Regions from separate parts of the Homo sapiens genome. Here region 1 is linked to region 2. Evidence: promoter capture Hi-C in 16 types of primary human blood cells and fetal thymus (Javierre and others, 2016). All regions are on one chromosome and are shown on one strand. Each heading gives the region's core, a stretch centred on a gene start or on the middle of the fragment in contact. The rest is flanking DNA. Distances are from core to core; before and after follow the strand shown. Region 1 overlaps LINC00620 (long intergenic non-protein coding RNA 620). Region 2 holds the start of IQSEC1 (IQ motif and Sec7 domain ArfGEF 1).

Evidence for each region. The method cuts DNA at HindIII sites, captures the fragments that hold promoters and counts their contacts. A CHiCAGO score of 5 or more calls a contact.
Region 1: a contact is called between a fragment that was not itself captured here and the fragment with the promoter of IQSEC1 in region 2, in 1 of 17 cell types (fetal thymus). The highest score is 6.2, in fetal thymus.

Annotation. Positions count from the first base shown.
Region 1 is chr3:13,656,430-13,661,214 of GRCh38, forward strand. The region is part of intron 1 of LINC00620 (long intergenic non-protein coding RNA 620); the gene reads left to right. Among named protein-coding and RNA genes, the nearest start is that of LINC00620, 8.1 kb to the left of the region's middle. The HindIII fragment of the contact is 1,196 bases long and covers 963-2,158 here.
Region 2 is chr3:13,070,221-13,075,479 of GRCh38, forward strand. It overlaps IQSEC1 (IQ motif and Sec7 domain ArfGEF 1), which reads right to left and starts at 3,209. Exons shown (of 14, transcript NM_001134382.3): 1 at 2,772-3,209. The coding sequence starts at 2,794. RefSeq lists silencers at 3,125-3,284, 3,405-3,584. The HindIII fragment of the contact is 20,266 bases long and covers 1-5,259 here.

The DNA of each region.
Region 1 (4,785 bases), core at 311-2,810, 580 kb after region 2:
CAGTTGCAAAACACTTTGAGCCCCAGGCTCCCCATCTGTAAAATGGGCACTGCTGCCTCTCATGCGGGGCACGTCAGGGATGGGGTGTAGCACACATAGGTGCTTAGCAAACATGGGGAGGAGTCTCCCCTACTTTATCACACAGCAAGGGAGGCTTTCATGGGGAGACTGGGCCGGCTGTCTCCTTCTTCCCAGGAGAGAGTGATGACAACAGCTGTCGGGCCATCCTCGAAAGGTGCTGGGCAGGTGGAGGGCAGCCCTCGGTGCCCCTGGTTGTCCCCTGAGCCATCCATCCCTCTTCCCTGCTGTGGCTTCCATGCCCTGAGCAGCAAGTGGGAGGTGAACAGTAGTTGGAGAGGGGGCAGGTGGGCACACCAGGTGTGGGTGCTTATGAAGGCACAGATTCAGAGCAGGGACAGGTTCAACATCAGTGAGATGGGGGCTTTGTGACCATCTTCAGTAGCCTCGCACTGTACCTACATGGAACTGAAGCAGAGGAGGATAAGGGACTTGCCCAAAGCCACATGGCCAGACAGAGGTGTGTAGGACGAAGTGGGCCAAGCCCGTATGTCTCTTGCATGAGCAATGTCCATGCCTGATTCATTTCTATAGACCCCTCTGTATCAGCATGGAGCAGCATGAAGATATATTTGTTGAGTGGATGACTGTGTCTGTCAGGCCACATTACCAAAGGTCTATACTTGCAACGAGGGAGGGGACATCCAGTTTTGCTTTATTCTCTGAGCTCTCTGGCTCCTATGCTCAGCTCCAGACACATCAGTGGACCCTGAGATGAACAGCAAGCCCTGGAGACAGCATTCTGTCAGGAGATGGGGTGGCTCAGCTTGGAGGGGGTCCCCACTGCTGTCCCTAATTCTCTGCAGGGTTGTCCTGGGGCAGAAGGGTTAGGAGGAGCTGGTAGATCTGTGGGCAGGACCGGGACCTTGGGAAGACAGGTCCCAAGCTTATGAAGAAGTCTCCCAGTTTTACTCATAGCTGCCGTATGGGGGTGAACAAGTTGGGACAGCTATTTAGTGGAAATGTTCATGCAGTTATTTTTCCAAAAGTCTTTATCGGTCACCTACTGTGTGCCAGACACTGGAGCTGATATTATTTTACTGGAGAATTTGATAGTCAACAAATAAACAAATCGATAGTATGACATTAGATGGAGACAAGTAGGAAGATGAACAACAAAGCAGGACTGGGGTCAGAGGGCACCAGCGAGGGGCCTTGGTTAGACAGCGGGGCTGCCATTGGGCGGGAAATGGGATGATGTGAAAAGCGAAGCGAAGAGTGCGCCAGGCAGAGGGACCTGCAGGAGCAAAGGCTGGGAAGTGGGAATGTGCTGACAAGAGGCGTGGCTGGAGTGTAGTGAGCGAGACTCCCGGGCAGTACTGTGCCCTGCACCCCAGTGCCCTCTTGCCTTCTGCCCGGTGCAGTCACCCCTTCCTTACTCAAGCCCGTTCCACAGCCCCAAAGCTCCACGGCCCCAAAGCTCCACAGCCCCAGAGCTCCACAGCCCCAAAGCTCCACAGCCCCAGAGCTGCGTGGCTCCGGAAGGCTGCGTCAACCCCAGCGACCACACGGAGGCAGCAGAGAACACGGCTGGGACGAGGGCGGAGGGTGAGGACTGAATCTGAGCACCCTGGGGACTCCCAGGTAGCCGGGGCTGGAGACAGGACCCCTCCCTTGCTGCTTCTTTGTACCCAGCATCACATCTCTCTTCGAAAGTTCCTCCCTCCTAAGCAGCATGAACAGTGCCTGCTGAAATTACAGCTCCACTCCACTGCTCTGGAAGGCTCATCTCTTCAAGCCTCCATGCCTGCATCTGTGAAGTGGCAGCAAGCAGAGTTTCATCTCTAGGGGGGTACATCGCAAGTGCTCGGGAACGTTGTCTTCTTGCAACCATGTGTGCCTCACACAACTACCTGTGTGACTTTGGGCAACTCCCTGAGTCTCAGTTTCCACCCTCGTAAAGTGATGGTAGGACTATGGTGTGGGGATCTTCTGTATGCCAGGTACACATGCATAATGCATGCACAGATCCTGGCACTTAGTCAATGCCCAGTGACAATAACTAGTAATCATGACAATTGCATTGATGACCTGGGGGCTTAGAGTCGGGAGAGACCTGCTATTCGGAGGAGAACATTGAAGCTTGGGAAGAAGAGGTGTTTGCCCACCATATACTCACCAGGAATGAGAGGCCCAGGGGTCCCCTCAAGACTTTTGTCCATTTGACAGATGGGGACGCTGAGGTCGGGAGAGGGTTGGCAGCCTGGCCAAGGCCACCCTGTGGCAGGCATAGGACTAGAATCCAAGATGCCTGCTTCCCTTCACGGCTCATCCAACCATGTCTTGGGGCCCTCCCTTCTAGGGCAGGTGGTTTCTCAGGCTGCAGCTCCGGATGTTCCTTTTTCTTCTCCAACCTCCCCCCGCCCACACCCATGCCAGACTGTGTAATCTTGGAAAGCTGCATTCTTGGAAATCTGGTCCCTTCTAGTCTTTGAATTCTTCGAACTTCCTATTGGAGCTGCGGCCCCTAGTTCCCGATGGTGCCTGGGAGGGAGCCTCCTGATTTTGATGTTTTTCAGAGGGAATGAGGTGTTTCCAGTAGGTGGGCAGCCCAGGGTGGGTGGGTGGAGGTGGCAGTGTGGATGGCAGTTGGATGCAGAGAGGAGGAAGGGGACTTGGGGGGGCACCTGTGAGCCCCCTTCCACGGGACTTTTCCCCGGGGTGCACTTTCCCCCTTGGCTTGGAGAGGAAACAGTTTTCCATGTTCCTTTCTCTCTGTGTGCTTGGGAGACACCCACAGCCCTCTTGGAATAATTCCTCTGAAACCTCCAATACCTCCAGCGTCTCCCGGGGTATTTTTCTTGTGGTTAAGGTGGTATTTACAGTGAAAACAGCTATTGAAACGAATCGCAAAAATAATGTCAGTGTTTCCACTTTTGACAAAAATGGGAAGGCAGGTGGTTTCATGTCTGCGATAAGCGCATTGCTCCTGCAATAATTACTATTTGAGATAATTATGAAAAAGAATTTAAATACTTAAGGCATGCACAGGGGCCAGGACAACTTTCTTTTGCCTTATTCATAATTTCTGCTGCAAGTTGGAGTCTTGTCCTGACTGGGACGTGGGGTGGGCGTGGGATGCTGAGGAGCAGTGGGCCAGTGGCAGACCCAGCACTGAGACCTGCTCGAGGTTTGAGGGGCATGGTTGGGCCCAGAAAGAGTGCACATCTTGGAGTGGGACACACCTGGGTGGAAGATGAATGTTTTAGCAAGGCCATCCTAGGCAACTTTCTCTGCACCTCAGTTTCCTTATCTGTAAAATGGGGTGAATATTTGGGCCTTCCTTAGAGCATTGTATGGAAATTGAAGCAGACAGTGTATGAAAAGCACTCAGTGCTCTACATGGTCTACAGCCAGGGCTCAACACGCGCTGGGTCCCTTCCTGTGACATGGGAGGCCTGGGTGAGCTTCCGCTGCTCTGTTATCCACTGAGATCAAAGCCCAGAGTCTGAGAAGGCCCCAATGAGTCTGTATTTTCTTCCCTGCTCTCTCCTGCTTGAACTTCTTCCCAAAAGCAGAATTCAGAGAGTGGCAGGGCAGCAAATGCCCATGAGATTGGAGAGAAGCAGCCTCAGGGAGTCCTGGTCTCTGCCCCTGCGTGAGCCCAGAGGGTAAGCTGGGGCCAAGGACTGGAGGCCAATTCCACCTCTGTGTGTGGCCCGGGTTTCCCAGTTGGAACTCAGCAGGACTGGGCTGGACTGGGAGGGAGGAACCATTCTCCCAGTCACCTGAGATGTCCAAGCAGCACCTGGCTGACCATCTGCCAGTAATGCTGTGAAAGGGGCAGGTGTTGGGCTGTTGGACCCCTGAAGACCTCTAGTCCTGAGACTTAAGGGTGAGTCAGAACCAAGGTATCCTAGGGGCTCACAAGAGGTCAAGGCAGGTGCTGTTAGTTCTGCCCTGGCTCTGCCCTGACTCATCGCATGGGTCAATGCCTGACTCAGGCCTCACTTGCCCCATCTATGCAATAGGAGGGTTGGACTGTAAATGAAAAACCCAAAGAACAATGGCTTCAAGAAAGGAGAAATTTCTATCTCATTCATATTTAAGCCTCAAGGTAGGTGGTACAGATCTGGCATGGGGAACAGCTTCCTTCTAGCTCCTGGCTCCACCTAACCAAGGAGGAAATCTGGTCCTTGTGGTCCAAGATGGCTGCCAGAGTTCCAGCCATCACATCTAAGTTCTAAGTAGGAGGGAAGAAGAAAAAAGGACAGACTGTGGGTATCAGATGTCTTTTAGGAAAGGCTCCTGGAAGCTGATGTGGGACACTTTTGCTTATATCCTACTGATCAGAGCTTCATCACACAGCCACCCTTAGATGCCAGAGAGGCTGAAAGTGAGGGCTTTATTCTGGGAGCCCAGCTGAAATTCAGGGAAAGAAGGGGAGGATTGTCCTGGGGTCTACCAGCTGACTCTGCCACAGGACAATCTCGTCGGGTCCTTCTGCTTTGAGTCTTGGAGATTCTGAGGCTCTGGAAAGGCACAGTTTTCCATGACCCAGGCTTTAAGAACAGAATGTGGGCTAAGCTGAAATAAATGAGTTTTCAAAATTATAAGATTCTGGAATTTCCAAACACAGTGTGTGTGTGTGCATGGCATGTGTGCATGCATGTGTGTATGTGGCGTGTGTGTGTGGCGTGTGTGCCGAGGAGCACAGGTAGCAGATGTGGGGCTGTCGCAGGGCGGGGGCTGCTGGTGCCCCTTGGT
Region 2 (5,259 bases), core at 1,959-4,458:
CTGCCAAATGTACGGCAGGAAACAGCTGTGTGACCCCAGTCAAGTTCCTTCCCCTCTCTGAGCCTCAGTTTCCTCTTCTGTAAAACGGGATCGACAGTATCACATTTTACAGCAGTTGGTGAGACCCCATGAGGCAACTAAGCATGAGAACGCTTTGCAATCAAGTTGGGCAGCTCTGATAGTGGCTACAGTGCAACTGTTGGGAAAGTTAAACATCTAGAGATGCTCAACACCCCATCTCCTTTCCACACTGAAAGGCAGGGTAACAATAAGGTCTGAGCAGCAGGTGCTGGGAGAGCCTGGGCCTAGAAGTGGGCCTGCCGCGGGTTCTGGGTGGGGAGTAATGGTGGGCAAACACAGGCTTATCAAGTGCAGCAGGGTAACCTCAGGAAAGGCCTGCTCTTGGTTACAAGATCCTTGCGTACAAACAGAGCCACCCCCTCCAAGTATCTTTGGTATTTCTGGTGCCAATAGGTTTGGTGGCAGAGCGGGGATGGCCTGGGAGTCACAATGCTCAGACTGGGAGCCTGAGAGCTGGAGAAGAGTGAAAAGACCCACAGAAAAGAAAGACAGTGAGCGCTAAGCCCCCTCGGGCCAGCCCCTCTCTTAGGCAGGAAGGCTAGACGAGCTTATTCCAGGAATCAGCAAATCCACCAGAGCCACGTGTTCAAATGCAGGTGGCTGGGCCCCCAACAGATTGAAGCAGACTCTCCAGGGAAGAGTATTGGAATCCATATAGAACATTGTCCCTGCAAAACTGCAATTGGATAGGCTTGGGCAACGCAGCCACAGTGAATAGCTGCATCACGGGAACATCAACCACACCTGGACATTAAAATCATCCGGAAAATGAAAAAGATCCTGAGGCTTGAGCCCTCCCCCAAACCTAGAAACCAGAATGTCTGGGGGTGGGACCCACACAGTTTTTTTTTGTTTTTTTTTTTTTGTTTGTTTCTTTAACTGCTCCTCAAGTGATTCCAGTATAGCTCCTGGGCTACAACCCCCACCCCAGGCTAGTATACTCCAGGGTTCCAGTAGAACTGTGCTGAGCCTCAGTTTCCCCATCTCTAAAATGGGGTTCTTAGTGCCTGCCCAGACAAGGCCTTTGTGAGGATGACATTTCTGAGCATTGGAGGCAAGCAGGCACTGGGCCAAGTAATCTGAATATGAATTGTCACATTTCATCCTCATGACATCTCCCCTCCCCGATGTAACAGCCCTGAGAGTTTAGAATTTCTCTGGCATCAGGCTCCTGGGCCCAGGCAAAGGTGTGGCAGGGAGGAGACAGCTGTCTCAGGAGGACCTATTCCCAGCCACTGGGGTGGAAGTTCCACGCTGGGAAAGGATTTACTATTTGTTTCAGAAAATGCAGCGAGGGCCTTGCCACAGGGAGTGAGAACTTTGGTGTGCTCTGCTCGCATCGACAAACCAACCTGTGAGCTTCTCCACTAAAAAAGCAAGTGAGCATCACAGCGAACCAGAGGCCACCGTCATCCCTCGAACCAGAGGCCACCGCCATCCCCCAAACCAGAGGCCGCCATCCCCCGAACCAGAGGCCACTGCCATTCCCTGAACCAGAGGCCACTGCCATCCCCCAAACCAGAGGCCACTGCCATCCCCCAAACCAGAGGCCACCGCCATCCCCCGAACCAGAGGCCACCGCCATCCCCCGTGGGTTGCCGCCTGGCACTGCTGACGCAGCAGAGGCAGAGGTGTGTTTACTTTCCCTCAGTGGAGGTGACGGGGAGCTGCCACTCTATCAGGGGTTCCACAGGCCCCTGCCATGGTAAGGGGCCTCCATCGATTAGGGAGGCCTTGGGGTAGCCCCCAGAAGGCTCCCCACATACTGCTCCAGGCCTCCTTTTCCTAGCCTTGCGACTGAGCCCAGCTCAAGAGGACTCAGCCATGCTCTCTAACCTCCTAAGGTCTGAGGTCACTGCACAGCCCCAAATGAGTGGGTCCTGGGCAAATAGTTTAGGCAGGTGGAGACCTGACGCTGGGCCTCAACCCCCGCAGCCGAGGGTCCCAGAGGAGGGCAAAGGTTGCTCCTCCTAGAACAGCACAGTGCAGCGCCCAGAGAGCTGTGAGGGAAGCTGGCATTCGAACCCCACTGCCCCCTGGGAAGCCTGGCTAACCGAAGCGCAGGCTTTGGTTTCCATAAATACCCGGGCCCGTGATGTCACCGCCCCGTGCAGACTTTCACAGCCTCTGCTGCTGGCGTGAGGCCCAGCACACAGCCGCTCTGCTGCCAGCCCACAGAACACCTGGGCACACAGCTGGACACTGATGCCTCCGTGCTAGGGACGGTGGGCTGGACCTTCACCTGCCCTTGGAGGACGCAGCATCCTGGCCACTGCCTCAGCCTGCCTGCGACCTTCTATCAGGCATGGCTGAAGGGCTGGCCATGGGCGTGCTGGGCAGAGATTCTCTTCCTAAACAGGCTATGGGCTAAACCAAAGCCAAAACAGTAGGAGCCGGTCTGGGCACCCTGAATGTGGATCTGGGAGGGGGGATACCTGCTCTCACAGTTGGGAATTTCACAGCCTGCTGAAGACCTGCTGACTAATAGCCTTTTTCTCATCGTCATCACCAACAAACACCTCCGCTGCAGGGGCCGAGCGCCGGCATCCCTGCTGGGTGGCCAGCTCCCTCTGCAAGTCACCTGCACATCCACCTGCCCCTCCCCCAACGATGCCCCTCACTCCAGCTCCCAGCTCAGCCGGGCCCCTCTGGCCTCTGGCTTCAGGCAGAAACCTGCCACATATACTCACAAATAGCGTCTTCTGCAAGCCATCCTGTGTGAATCCGTTCTTCCCTGTTCTGGCTCCCTCTCCAGCGGGGAGGCTCAACGTGTTTCCAAGAGGAGCAGGCGGCTCAGGCAAGAAGTGGAGGGGAATAAAATTAAATCGCGGGGCGAGTCACATTCCCGGGGGTGGCGGGCTCCTCCAGGGAGGCTGGGGCGGGAGCGGGGGGCGGCGCCAGCAGCGGGCTGTGGAGGGCCCTGGCACGTAGCGCGCGCTCACACCGTGCCCAGGAGCGAGCGAGGACGTCGAGTAACCGTGGTCGCCAGGCTGGGCGGGGGCGTCCACCTCGCTGCTACCTGGGCCCACCTTGGGGTTTTTCCCTCCCGTCCATCCGGGGTGCGGGGCGCGGGGATGAGGAGGGGAGGGTCGAGAGAAGGCTGCCCCGGGTTTGCTCTCGCAGCATCCGGAGAAGGGGCGGGCGCGCCGGAGCCTCCCCCACCCCCCGCGCCCAAGGAGCAACGTAGTGCGGCCGCGCCGGACCAATCGCCGAGGCGCTGGTCGCCATGGCAACAGCAGCATCAGGCGCGGCCGCTCGGCTGCGCCCTCGCGGCAAAGTCACACACCCGGCGGGGCGCGGGGCGCCGGCCCCTTCCTGGCCCGCGCTGGAAACCTGGAAGTCTGTTGCTAAAATGCACGCGCCGCGCGGAGCCTACGATGACACTACTTTCCAAGGCGGCTTTTCTGCCTTCGGCACTGAGACACGCGAGCCGCGGAGCTCTCGGGGCTCTGGCCCTGGAGTGAGGCCGGCCGACTCCAAGGCTGTCTCTGCCACTGAAGGGCGATGAGACCTTGGCAAGCCGCGTCTCTCCTGGGAGTCTTGATTATGCTACTGTGAAAGGGATCATAACAGCTATACCACGGGGTTCCAGGAGGGCGCACCACGCCAGTAGCTGCACGGTGGATGGCAGAGCAGTCCTCGTTTGTGCCAGTCCTGTCCCAAAGGGGGCTGCACGTGGCTAGGGAGAATTTCTGGTCTAGCTATGGTGCCTCTTCCTCTCCCGAGGACCTTCCATGTGCCGGGCAAGTATCTGCCCTCATGATGTTTACAGTCTAAGGGGAAGCCAGGAAGTAAGTGTGCAGATATAGGATTGCACGTGGTGATAAGGATCAGGATGAAAAGAGAGCAGGAAGAGGGGAGGCAGGGACCCCAAGAGAGGCGGGAAGGAGGCTTCTGCCATCAGACGGGGTGGTCGGGAAGGCCCTCTGTGAGGCACGTGTGGCTGAGACTCGGATGACGCAAGAAGCAGGGGAGGAGCTGGCGTCAAGGCTCTGAGGCGGAAGGCAGCCTGGTGTATTTGACTGGCCCAGAGGAGGCCAGCGTGGTGCAGTGTGCGACAGGGAGGTGGAGGGGAGAAGCGCACATCCATCCTCGGCTCCCACACCCGCCTTTCCCACACAGATTTCTCTCTTCCTGTCTGATGTTCATCTGATCCTCTCTGCTTCCTCATCTGTAAACCAGGAATCCCAGACCTATCTCAGAGGCATGTAGATAATATTCTTCCGTGCACGGTAATCCTCAAGACAACCCCAATGAGGCCTAATACTATCATCCTACTTCACGGGGGAGCGCATTAAAGCCAGAGGTTCAGCAACTGGCCCAAGCCACATAGCTGGCGGGCAGTCTGGCTCCAGAGTCTTGGTTCTTGACTGCTTGAAAGCTGCCTCACTGGGAGGAATAAATGAGAGAGGGAGTAGTTGAGACTGGGAATCGGCTGGATGTGGATGGCAGCCCACAGGGCCATTTCCCTTCCTCTTTCCATTCTCTCCAGATTCACACTCACCGAATTTAGAAGGAGTGATGCTGCATCCTTGAGTTCCATTCCATCCTTTACAGGGGAGGAAATGAACCTCAGGGGGTGAGCGATTTGCCTAAAGTTGCACAGCAAAGAGTGGCAGAGGTGGGACTAGGACCCCAGTCTTCCAGCTCAGTGTCCTGGTAGGGAGCAGAGGTTGGAGCTGCGGCCTCAGGTGGCCAAGGTGAGGCATCGAACAGAACTGCATGACGCTTCCCGATCTGCCCTCTCCAGGTGAATCCATATGCATGACCAATCTTCCTGTAGCACGGACCTCCCTCCCTGAGTCATGTGAGGAATTCATATTTCTGTGGGTTAACATGTTGCAGAGCCCACCCCACCCCTCTCCTCACTGGAGTTTCAAAAGATTTTAATAACATCAAAATTCAGCCACTGCATCAGGAGGGCTCACTTTGTGTCAGGTCCAGTTGTTTCATGGTCTCAGTGAATTCTCAGAAGCGCCCTACGAAGTGAACATAATTACCACTCCTGCTTAGATGGGTTGCACCACATACGGGGGTCTCCCATCAAGGCAGCAGCAGAGCCCAGACTAACTCACAGCCTGGCTCGGGCTAGAGCAATGCCCCTCTCAGCCGCCTTGCTCAACTAGCGATTCTCTTCTCACTTCCATCTTCCAGAGGCGGAAACAGGCTCAGAGTGGT